2 separate regions of the Homo sapiens genome follow, and region 1 is linked to region 2. Evidence: promoter capture Hi-C in human tissues and cell types (Jung and others, 2019). All regions are on one chromosome and are shown on one strand. Each heading gives the region's core, a stretch centred on a gene start or on the middle of the fragment in contact. The rest is flanking DNA. Distances are from core to core; before and after follow the strand shown.

What was found. Contacts are between HindIII fragments. The study calls those that stand out against the background at their distance.
Region 1: a fragment that was not itself captured here is called in contact with the fragment with the promoter of NAGA in region 2 in 1 of the 25 tissues and cell types used here (dorsolateral prefrontal cortex).

What each region holds. Positions count from the first base shown.
Region 1 is chr22:42,253,679-42,259,210 of GRCh38, reverse strand. The region is part of intron 1 of TCF20 (transcription factor 20); the gene reads left to right. Among named protein-coding and RNA genes, the nearest start is that of TCF20, 14 kb to the left of the region's middle. The HindIII fragment of the contact is 7,259 bases long and covers 293-5,532 here.
Region 2 is chr22:42,067,700-42,072,662 of GRCh38, reverse strand. NAGA (alpha-N-acetylgalactosaminidase) reads left to right here and starts at 1,851. Exons shown (of 9, transcript NM_000262.3): 1 at 1,851-2,381; 2 at 4,089-4,224; 3 at 4,727-4,898. The coding sequence starts at 2,366. RefSeq lists enhancers at 1,541-1,590, 3,946-4,815, 4,816-4,963, 4,550-4,963 and a silencer at 1,771-2,070. The HindIII fragment of the contact is 6,054 bases long and covers 1-3,334 here.

The DNA of each region.
Region 1 (5,532 bases), core at 2,673-5,172, 180 kb before region 2:
AAAAGCTAGCGATTAAGGGAGCATGGTGGCTCTTAAATAGCAGCAGGGCTATTTAAGACCCACCAGACAGGCTGGAGGAAACTCCAGAGAGCATGGAACCAGGGAAGACTTTTTCGTGTCAGAGGCAGTAGACAAGATTACTGAGAAATGTCAGTTGGGTGGAGAGGGAGGCAGGCTTCTGGGGAGTGGTAAACTAAAGCTAGATTGTCATGTATTGATGAGAAAGGTGAAGTGAAGACAGTAAATTGGGAGTCAGACCTTCCTAAAGTTTGGCTGTTAGAGAAAAGTAAAATACAGATGCAGGGAGAATCTGGGATCAAGAGAACTCTTTTATGTGTTTTTTTCTTTTAATATAAATACTTCTTATGGAGTTACATCCTGATAAACCCATCCGTCCTAAGTCGAAGGTATATTTAATGCACCTGGCCTACTGAATATCATAACCTAGCCTAGCCTTGGATGTGCTGGCAACACCTACCTACATGAGCCTATAATTGGGCAAAATCACCTAACACAAAGCTCATTTTATAATAAAAGTGTTGCATTTATTGAATACTATACTGAAAAAGTGAGAAGCAGAATGGTTGTGTGGGTACTCAAAGTAGGGTTTCTACTGAATGCTTGTCACTTTGGCACCATCCTGAAGTGAAAATCCTAAGTGTATGTGAAACCAGAGCATGCGTAAATTCTGATGAGGAGCCAGCACACAGGATGGTGTTGAAGATGCAGGAGAGTGAGAGGATGTTGGATTGAGGACATTCCTGGGGAACTCAGAACCCAGTGTGATCCCCTGTGATTGGCGTTGGGTAGTAAGAATATCCTTCTCCCACAGGAGAGCAGAGGTGCGAGCAGAGGTGTGTGGGTGAGAAGCAGGCTGCGCATGGGGCAGGAATGTAAGGAGTACTCTTTGCGCACTGAAGATCCTCTGCCTAGGGAAGGGGGGGGAGGTATGGAGAGTTGGAGGTTTCAAGAAAGCATGAAAGATTTTAAGAAACTTCCTGCCAAGCGGATAGAGCTGACTAAGGAAACAGTAATTGTAGGGATAAAGTAAGAAAGTAGTTAAGATGAGCTTTCTACTTCCTGGGATTTTAGAGAAACTGGTCAGACCTTTATAATCCTTTGTCTAGTTTTGGATTCCAGTGATTTGGACACAACTTTTTGTGCCTTGTGTCTGGCAATTCCACTGTTCCCCATATATTAGAGCAATCCCATTTATTAGACCAGTGACTTGTAAATTATTTCAGAGCCCTCACATTTTATTTAAAAAATATGCATGTAGCACTAGCTGTATAGTTAGGTGGCAGTGTGCTAAGTGTTATATCAAAACAGAATAAGATGGAAGAAAGGCGGCAGGGGGGCACTCTCATCTCTTCCGTGCTGGGCTCCCCCAGGTCTGCAGAGGCATTTTGGGAAACAGGTGGCCTGGCTGGGGTAGAAGTGAGGGTCATCCTCTTCTCAACTCCAGCCAGAGCAGCTCATCATCTCTCTTATCTTTTGGGTATATCAACATAAGATTTTTGCTGAAAAAAGACTTGCAGAATATTTTCAAACACCATTTCACTAGGCTCTAAGGTCCTTATAGTCAGGGCTGTGTTTTGCTTTTATAGCCCCATCATCTGCATTGTTGCCTGCCAGTGCATTGAGAAAGAATGTACCATTTTGCCTCTGAGCCTCTGCTCTCTAATACTTCTCCCTCCTTCCCATCTCTAGCCGTATATTAGAGTTAAAATAGAATGTGTCTGTTTCATCGCAAATTTGTATATTCTTAGGTGATCACCATGTCTTATTAATCTATGTCTTTGTGTCCTGTTCACATAATTCTATTAAAGTAATGTTGAATTTGGATTTGTTGTAGAAAACTTGCAAAGCTCTTCTAAGAGTAACTAAAATCAGTAAAGAATAGGGGAAAAAATCCAGAGAAAATATAAGCAGGAAAACCATAGCAGACAGGGTCAGATGGAATATTAGCGGTTTAGGTGAAGAACCCAGAGAACCGCCTGCCCTGTAAGGAATGCTGGGTATTTCTCCTGGAGGGTTTTATTTTAATTTTTGAGACAGGATGTTGCACTGTCACCCAGGCTGGAGTGTGGTGATACAGTCATGGCGCACTGCAGCCTTGAGTTCCTGGACTCAAATGATCTTCCTTCCTCGGCCTCCTGAGTATCTGCGACTACAGGCACATGCCACCACACCCTGCTAATTTTATTTTCTTTTGTAGAGATTGGGGTCTCTCTATGTTGACCAGGCTGATTTTGAACTCCTGGCCTCAAGCAATCTTCTTGCCTAGGCCTTCCAAAGTGCTGGGATTACAGGCATCAGCCACTGTGCCTGGCTCCTGGAGAGTTTTAGAACAATAAAATAGAATTGTTACTCCATGGCAGAAGTGTAGAGAACATGCCTGCCAGATTCCAGCCAGATGACTCCTATAAACACAACATACAGTCAGTGTAAATGAACCTAAACAGATTTACCAGTACCTGTACATTACTAAACAGATGTAAATGAAAAGATACACTATGCATTGAACTTAATGCTACTTTTTTGTTTTTTGTTTTTTGTTTTTCTAGTAGATGTGAGTTTAAATATAGCAGGAATAGGATTTTCATCTTCTCTTGTTGAAAGTCTTCGTGGAAGTGGATTTAAGTTCTAGCATATTCAGTAGGAGAAATTTGAGCTGGAATGAAGGACATCACAGCCTGCATAATTTGTTAAATGTCTCTTTAAAAAAAAAAAAAAAACTTTGCTACATTGGCTAGCGCATGTGCTGAAAGTTGGCTTCCCCTAAAGATAAGGGACACAGGCCAAATGAAGCCTATGGGAATGAAACACATCAGAGAAAATAAAAGAAAAAAGAAAATTTCTGTTCAGCCAAGTTTGCTAAGTAGTTGCCATGCTAGGCACACACACACAAAAATCAAATAAAACACTTCACTTTTCCTTAGAGTTCAGGGTCTGTGGGAGAGTCCAATATGGAAAATTAACATTTATCAAACGTATGAATGATTGATAAGGCTGTAATAGTGGTGTAGCTGGAGTGCTGGGGAGAACTAGGCAAGAGGCTGCTCCCTCCTGATCAAGTATGGGAAGAATATTGGAGAAGCCGGTAGAGGAGGGAGCATTTGGGTAGACCTTGAAGGATGGACGAGAGAGAGAGACAAGTGGAAGAGTGGAGAAAGAGCATTCCTAAGAGAGGTCTTTTGGGAACCAAGGCTCAAAAGTATGTAGCATATTATCAATCAAACCCTGGGCCCTTAGGCTAAGGGCCTAGAGATGACAGAGGGGAAGGTCAGAAGGGAGCGTGGGCCTAATAGTATGAGAGCAAGGTGGGAATAGCTTTGAACCTGGGGCTGGGGCACTTGAGTCTCATAAATGGAACAAAGTTTTGTGAAGAGAGGTGTGAATACATGGTTGGGGGCGTTGTTCTGACTGAGGAGAGATGGTGGTGGGAAGGAGAGGGGAGGGCCGGAAACAGATGATGAATTGATCATCTTGGCCTCTTACTGTTCTGATTTTCTCATGCCCAAAGCCCTAGTCTGCATAAGAAGGATCTGTAAAATTTAGCAATTGGTTTAAATAAAATGGATTTACAGGAAATTTTGGCATCAACCCATGTTGATTCCAAAACAGGTCGGCAAGCATATTTTATTTACCCAAACATTTATAACAATAAATAATGTGGTTTTGTTGTTGTTGTTGTTGTTGTTGTTGTTGTTGTTGTTGTTTGAGATGAAGTCTCACTCTGTTGCCAGGTTGGAGTGCAGTGGCGCGATCTCAGCTCATGGCAGTCTCCTCCTCCCGGGTTCAAGTGATGCCCCTGCCTTAGCCTCCCAACTAGCTGGGACTACAGGCACGCACCACCAAGCCCGGCTACTTTTTTTTGGTATTTTTAGTAGAGACGGGGTTTTACCATGTTGGTCAAGATGGTCTCGATTTCCTGACCTCGTGATCCGCCCGCCTTGGCCTCCCAAAGTGCTGGGATTACAGGCATGAGCACCATGCCCAGCCAACATTGTGAATATTTTTATATAAACAATAAATTCCAAGGGCCAGGACTTGTTCTAAACATTTGACAAAAAAGTTAGGAGATAGTGTTATTACCTCTGTTTTTCAAACGAGAAAACTGAATAACGGAGGTTGAGTGACTTGCCCAAGGTCACCCAACTATTAAGTAGCAGAGCCAGGATTGGGAATTGGGAAAAACTCTCACCTCTAATCATGTTTTTCCTCTACCTTTTTTTTTTTTTTTTTTTTGAGACGGAGTCTTGCTGTGTCACCCAGGCTGGAGTGCAGTGGTGCCATCTCTTCTCAAGCTCTGCCTCCCAGGTTCACGCCATTCTCCTGCCTCAGCCTCCAGAGTATTTGGGACTACAGGCGCCCGCCTCCACCCGCGGCTAATTTTTGTATTTTTAGTAGAGACGGGGTTTCACTGTGTTGGTGAAGATATTCTCGATCTGCTGACCCTGTGATCTGCCTGTCACGGCCTCTCAAAGTGCTGGGACCAGCTCCTTTTGGATTTTTATGGAAGTTTCCTGATGTCAATTTCTTCTCCCAGGGTATAGGGCTGGACGCCCTCTGAGGAGGGTCTTAAGAGCCACAGTCTGAGAGGTGGGAAAGGATTAGAGTCCTGCCTTAGGGCAGGTGAATGGAGGACAGGTGAGAGATTGTTTCCCCAGGCCTTAACATACCCAATATTATAACAAAACACTGTTACAAGGGCTGGACAATACCCAGTATATATCATGATACCACAGGCACCCTGGCTCTGGACTCTGTGCCCTTAACCTGTACCCTGTGTGAATGTTTAATTTAAATGAGCTGGAATATAACTTGCAGGATAAGTTTGTGGCCATTTGAAGAGGAAGAGTTTAGTTTTGGATTATAGAAACAAAGAAAAAGAAAGTGGAGTGGAGCTGGGAAGTACCATCCTGGGATCTACCTGGGAGAATAGTCTGCTGTGTGAGGGCAAGGACTTGTCTGTTGCCCATCATATTCCCAGCATCTAGAACAGTGCTTGATATGTAGCTAATGCTTAGCAGATATTTTTGAGTGAATCAGTAAATAAAATTTCGCTGCCAGCTCTCAAAGGAATATGCTGTGGAAGCTTCAGTTACTTTTTTTTTTTTTTTTTTTTTTTGAAAGGGAGTTTTGCTCTTGTTGCCCAGGCTGGAGTGCAATGGCACGATCTCAGCTCACCGCAACCTCCGCCTCCCGGGTTCAAGCGATTTTCCTGCCTCAGCCTCCCAAGTAGCTGAGATTACAGGCATGCGCCACTACACCCGGCTAATTTTGTATTTTTAGTAGAGACAGGGTTTCTCCATGTTGGTCAGGCTGGTCTCAAACTCCTGACCTCAGGTGATTCTCCTGCCTGGCCTCCCAAAGTGCTGGGATTACAGGCATGAGCCACCATGCCCGGCCTCTTCAGTTACTTTTTTCTCTTTGGTTCATGGTTCAGGATCCTTTCTGAATTAATAAATTTATTACTTGTTTTTACTAAACTTATTTTGTTCAGCTTTTCAAGGAATGCCAGTTCAC
Region 2 (4,963 bases), core at 602-3,101:
TGTTGGGGCTCAGAAAGCGATGCCTAAAAATATGGCACTTGGGCATGCTGAGTACTTTGAACCAAAGGACACTGGAAGAGCCTCAGAAGCAAAGTATCTCTCTGACCTTCTCCTGCCCCCCTTCTTTCTCCTGTTTTTCTCCTGCAAGGCAGGCCATAGAAACTAAAAATCCTCCTCCCTAAGGTGAGTTATAGCAACTACAAATATTGGCTGGGCACAGTGGCTCATGCCTGTAATCCCAGCACTTTGGGAGGCTGAGGTGGGCGGATCACGAGGTCAAGAGATCAAGACCATCCTGGCCAACATGGTGAAACCCCATCTCTACTAAAAATACAAAAATTAGCTGGGCATGGTGGCGTGCGCCTGTAGTCCCAACTACTTGGGAGGCTGAGGCAGGAGAATCGCTTGAACCTGGGCGGCGGAGGTTGCAGTGAGCAGAGATCGCGCCACTGCACTCCAGCCTGGTGACAGAGGGAGACTCTGTCTCAAAAGAAAAAAAAAAAGAAAAAAAAGTAACTACAAATATTACTGGAAACATCCCCCACCTTTCTGTGTCGGGCCTGGCCATAAAGGAATTCTCTGATCTACCTTGCCTGATACTAGGTCATAAGACTCTCATTCCAGAAGGGGTCCTGCCCTCCTCCCAGCAGGAGGGAATGCCACACAGAGAGAACAAGAAGAATCCGAATCTGAACAGACATTGCTGGGTTTCCACACTCAGCTATTAACATTAAATCATTCCCTTTTGTCTAATCGCGTTTATACACAGTTGTCCATTCCTTATTCCTTTTTTTTTTTTTCTGTTGCCCGGGCTGGAGTACAGTGACACAATCACAGCTCACTGCAACCTCGACCTCCTGGACTCAAGCAATCCTCCCACCTCAGCCTCCCGAGTAGCTGGGACCACAGGCACCTGCCTGGCTTTTTAATTTTTTGTAGAGACAGGGTCTCACTATGTTGCCCAGACTGTCCTTAAATGTCTGGCCTCAAGCGATCCCCCTGCCTCAGCCTTCCAAAGTGCTGGGATTACAGGCATGAGCCACCAGACCCGGCCAGGGCTGTCCATTCTTCATCAAACCGAGACATAAAAATAAAGATTTCCCTGAGTATTTGTGTCTTCATTCCTGAAGGCTCTCAAGTCACATAAAACATTGAGTAAATCAATCTATTATGCTTTTCTCTTGCTAACCTATATTTTATTTGTAGGAGTGTCCGCTGTGACCTTTGGGATGAGTAAGGGAAAATATCACACCTTTCTGCCCCTACAATGCCCAGAACAAAGCATTTGGCACTTAGCAGTTTCTCAATAAATACTTGATGAATGAATGAAGAAGGAAGTAGCCCAGTCTGTGCGAGTAGTCCCTGAGCGTCAGGCGGGGAAGGAGAGCCGGCTGCCTTTGCGGGAGCTGTGACCGCCTGCTTTGGTGCCTCCCACGCACCCTCCTTGTAGAGACGATTAATCCCAGACTTCCATTTTCCTAGCAGCTCACTAGGCGGGCCTTGCTTCAGAGCAGTCTCTCATTTCCTCTGCACAAAGCCCTCAACCGTCCTCTGCACGGCCGCTTACTGAGCGCCCACGGTGAGCCTGGCACGATCCTTGCCCTCTTGGTCCCCACAGAGGTGGAAGGACAGGCCTCGCGGGGTCCGGGCCACGAAGGACAGCCCCGAGTCCGTTCTGCCAATGCCTGCCTCGCTAGCACGCAGGGCGGGAGCCCAGTGGGGAAGGGCTTAGGGAGGCTGGGAGGCCGGACCCATATGGGCGGGGCACAGCGTTGCTAGGGGGGATTCTGATAGGTTGCGCGAAGGGTTGCCTTCGTGAGGCCCCGCCCTCACTGGAACGCTTCGGACTTATCAGGTTACCGGATTCGAGTCAGAAGCGGCGGCAGGTCTGAACGCTTCGGTAGGATAAGTGCGGTGGGAGGGGGCTCTGCGGTTTTGGGGAGCCCAGGGCGGGAACCCGGACCCGGCTGGAAGTCCGGAGCCTGGCCGCAGCCCCGCCCCTCCGCTCTTTCTTGGTGACCTTAAGCCAGTGGCTGCCTTTTTCTGAGCCCGGGCGGGGCCGAAGGCGGCCCGTAGGCCCTCGGGACTCCCAGCACTGCAGAGGGTGTGAGGTCTGACATCCAAGACACGTTGTTTCGTATTTCTGAAGGAAGAACTGAAGCTCCGGGAAGTGATGGCTGGGGATGGGGCGGGCAACTTGGGGACCGAGTGTACGATCCACGCCTAAGGTTGAGGGCGGCCGAGCTAGCCAGGCAGCCGTGACCCCAGTGCTTTTCAGACGTTTCTTAGCTTCCAGAGCCCAACACATACAGCTGATACACGCAGACCAGATCTGGTCAGGTCCTCGGAAGCTGAGTCCAGAGCGATGCTGCTGAAGACAGGTACCTACACCGGCTGGGGTGGCTTGGAAGGGTAGGGGTGAGTGCTACAAGGAGTGCTTTGGCCCTTCTTCCCTAATGTGGGTATGTGGAGAGACAGGTTCCTCTCTCTTTTACTTAGAGCTGGGCAGGAAGGGAGGAGATGCTTCCCCATACGGGAATCATTTCTCCTTCAAAGGGGCCCTTCCTTTCTCACTTCCTCTCCCTCAAGCACAGAGGCCCTAACTGATGGATATCAGCATGTGCGGAGAACCGCCTGTACAGTCCCTACAGTAACTCCATATTACAGATAAGGAAACTGAGGCCCGAGGGGGAAAGGTCTCACTTAGGTGAGCTGATTGGGTGCCCATCCTGGCTGGCTTACTTCTTAAGCCTCTCTGAGGCCTCTTGAGGGTCTGTGGTAGAGAGCAAAGAGCTCTGGACTGGGGCTCAGGAGACCTGGAGTCTGGCCAATGGTCCCGACTTAACGATTTTTCAACTTTACTGTGGTGTGAAAGCGACGCACATTCAGTAGAAACCACAGTACGTATACAACCTGTGTTTCAGTATTCAGTAAATTGCATGAAATATTCAACAATTTATTATAAAATAGGCTTTGTGTTAGATGATTTTGGCCAGCTGTAGGCTAATGTGCGTTGTCGCACTTTTTTTTTTTTTTTTTTTTTGAGACGGAGTCTCACTCTGTCACCCAGGCTGGAGTGGAGTAGAGTGGCGCGATCTCGGCTCACTGCAACCTCCATCTCCCAGGTTCAAGCAAGTCTCCTGCTCAGCCTCCTAAGTAGCTGGGATTACAGGCACTCACCACCTCACCCCGGTATTTTTTTGTAGTTTTAGTAGAGACAGGGTTTCACCATATTGCCCAAGCTGGTCTTGAACCCCTGACTTACGGTGATCCGCCCACCTCGGCCTCCCAAAGTGCTGGAATTACAGGAGTGAGCCACCGTGCCTGGCCTGTCCACATTTTTAAGGTAGGCTAGGCTCAGCTATGATGTTTGCCAGGTTAGGTGTATTAAGTACATTTTTGACATAATATTTTCTTTTTTATTATTTTGGGATGGGGTCTCGCACTGTCACAGCCCAGGCTAGAGTTCAGTGGCACGATCTCAGCTCACTGCAGCCTCCGCCTCTGGGGTTCAAGTGATCCTCTTGCCTCAGCCTCCCGAGTACAGCGCATGCCACCACGCCTGGCTAAGTTTTTGAATTTTTAGTAGAGACAAGGTTTCACCATGTTGGCCTGACCTCAAGTGATCCACTCGCCTCGGCCTTCCAGAGCGTTGGGATTACAGGCATGAGCCACTGCATCTGGCTGATGTGATATTTTCAACTTACACTGGGCTTATGAGAACGTAGTTCCGTGGTAGGCCTAGGAGCATCTGTACTGTTAAGTTCTATATATGGGATGGGAGGAGCTGATGGGGGTTATAGGAAGGTTAGGACATAAGGTGTTAGTTTTGCTAATTCCAGCAATGCTGTGGTGACGGCCAGACCTCAAGCCACTGCCTGGCCCAGGCACCATCCTCCCACTTACTGCTTTGCAAGAGCCAGCCATTGCAGGAAGAGCCAATTCTACCCTAAACCCAGGAGTCCAGTTTCCCTTATATATAGGCAGGCAGCCTCTGTAGGGCTGAGCAACATACAGATGGGGTGGGATGAGGGCTGGAGCTGTGGGGGCAACTGATAGTCACCATCCCCTCCTCCCTTGCCCCCTAGTGCTCTTGCTGGGACATGTGGCCCAGGTGCTGATGCTGGACAATGGGCTCCTGCAGACACCACCCATGGGCTGGCTGGCCTGGGAACGCTTCCGCTGCAACATTAACTGTGATGAGGACCCAAAGAACTGCATAAGGTGAGTAAGGTCCACACTCACCTGATGAGCCTTGCCCAGGGCCCTGCAGATTCGGGGGCAGGAAGTGGAGAGTCCACTAGAAAAGAGGGCAAGGTCAGAGTTCTCCATCCCAGAGACTGCAGCCAGAAGTCACTCGGACTGTCTGACACCTAGCCCCATGACCTGTCTGGAGCCTCTGCAGGGACTCTCAGGCCCCAACCTGGTCACGAGGCAGGGACCTTACATGGACCCAGCCCCTGAGATAACTCTTAGAAGGTCAGGCCAGGCCCCCTGTACTTCCCCTGACCCAGTCCTGCCTTTTAGCCTGGGGCCAGCCACTCCTTTCAAGCCAGCTTGCTTATGGCTCATCGCACAATCTCTGGTGGTCATTTACACTGATACCTGGCTTAGGGCTCAGCAAGGTCATGGTTTTTATAGCCCAGATTCAATCAGAGCTGAGGCAGGGTGTGGGTGAGGGCCGGGCTGGGTCCCTGAGCTACCCCATCCCTCTGCCCCTCACTAGTGAACAGCTCTTCATGGAGATGGCTGACCGGATGGCACAGGATGGATGGCGGGACATGGGCTACACATACCTCAACATTGATGACTGCTGGATCGGTGGTCGCGATGCCAGTGGCCGCCTGATGCCGGATCCCAAGCGCTTCCCTCATGGCATTCCTTTCCTGGCTGACTACGTGAGCCGCACCCCAGCCCTGCCCTTGGCCTCAGGGCTAGACCACTCCTTTCACCCTACCTCGCT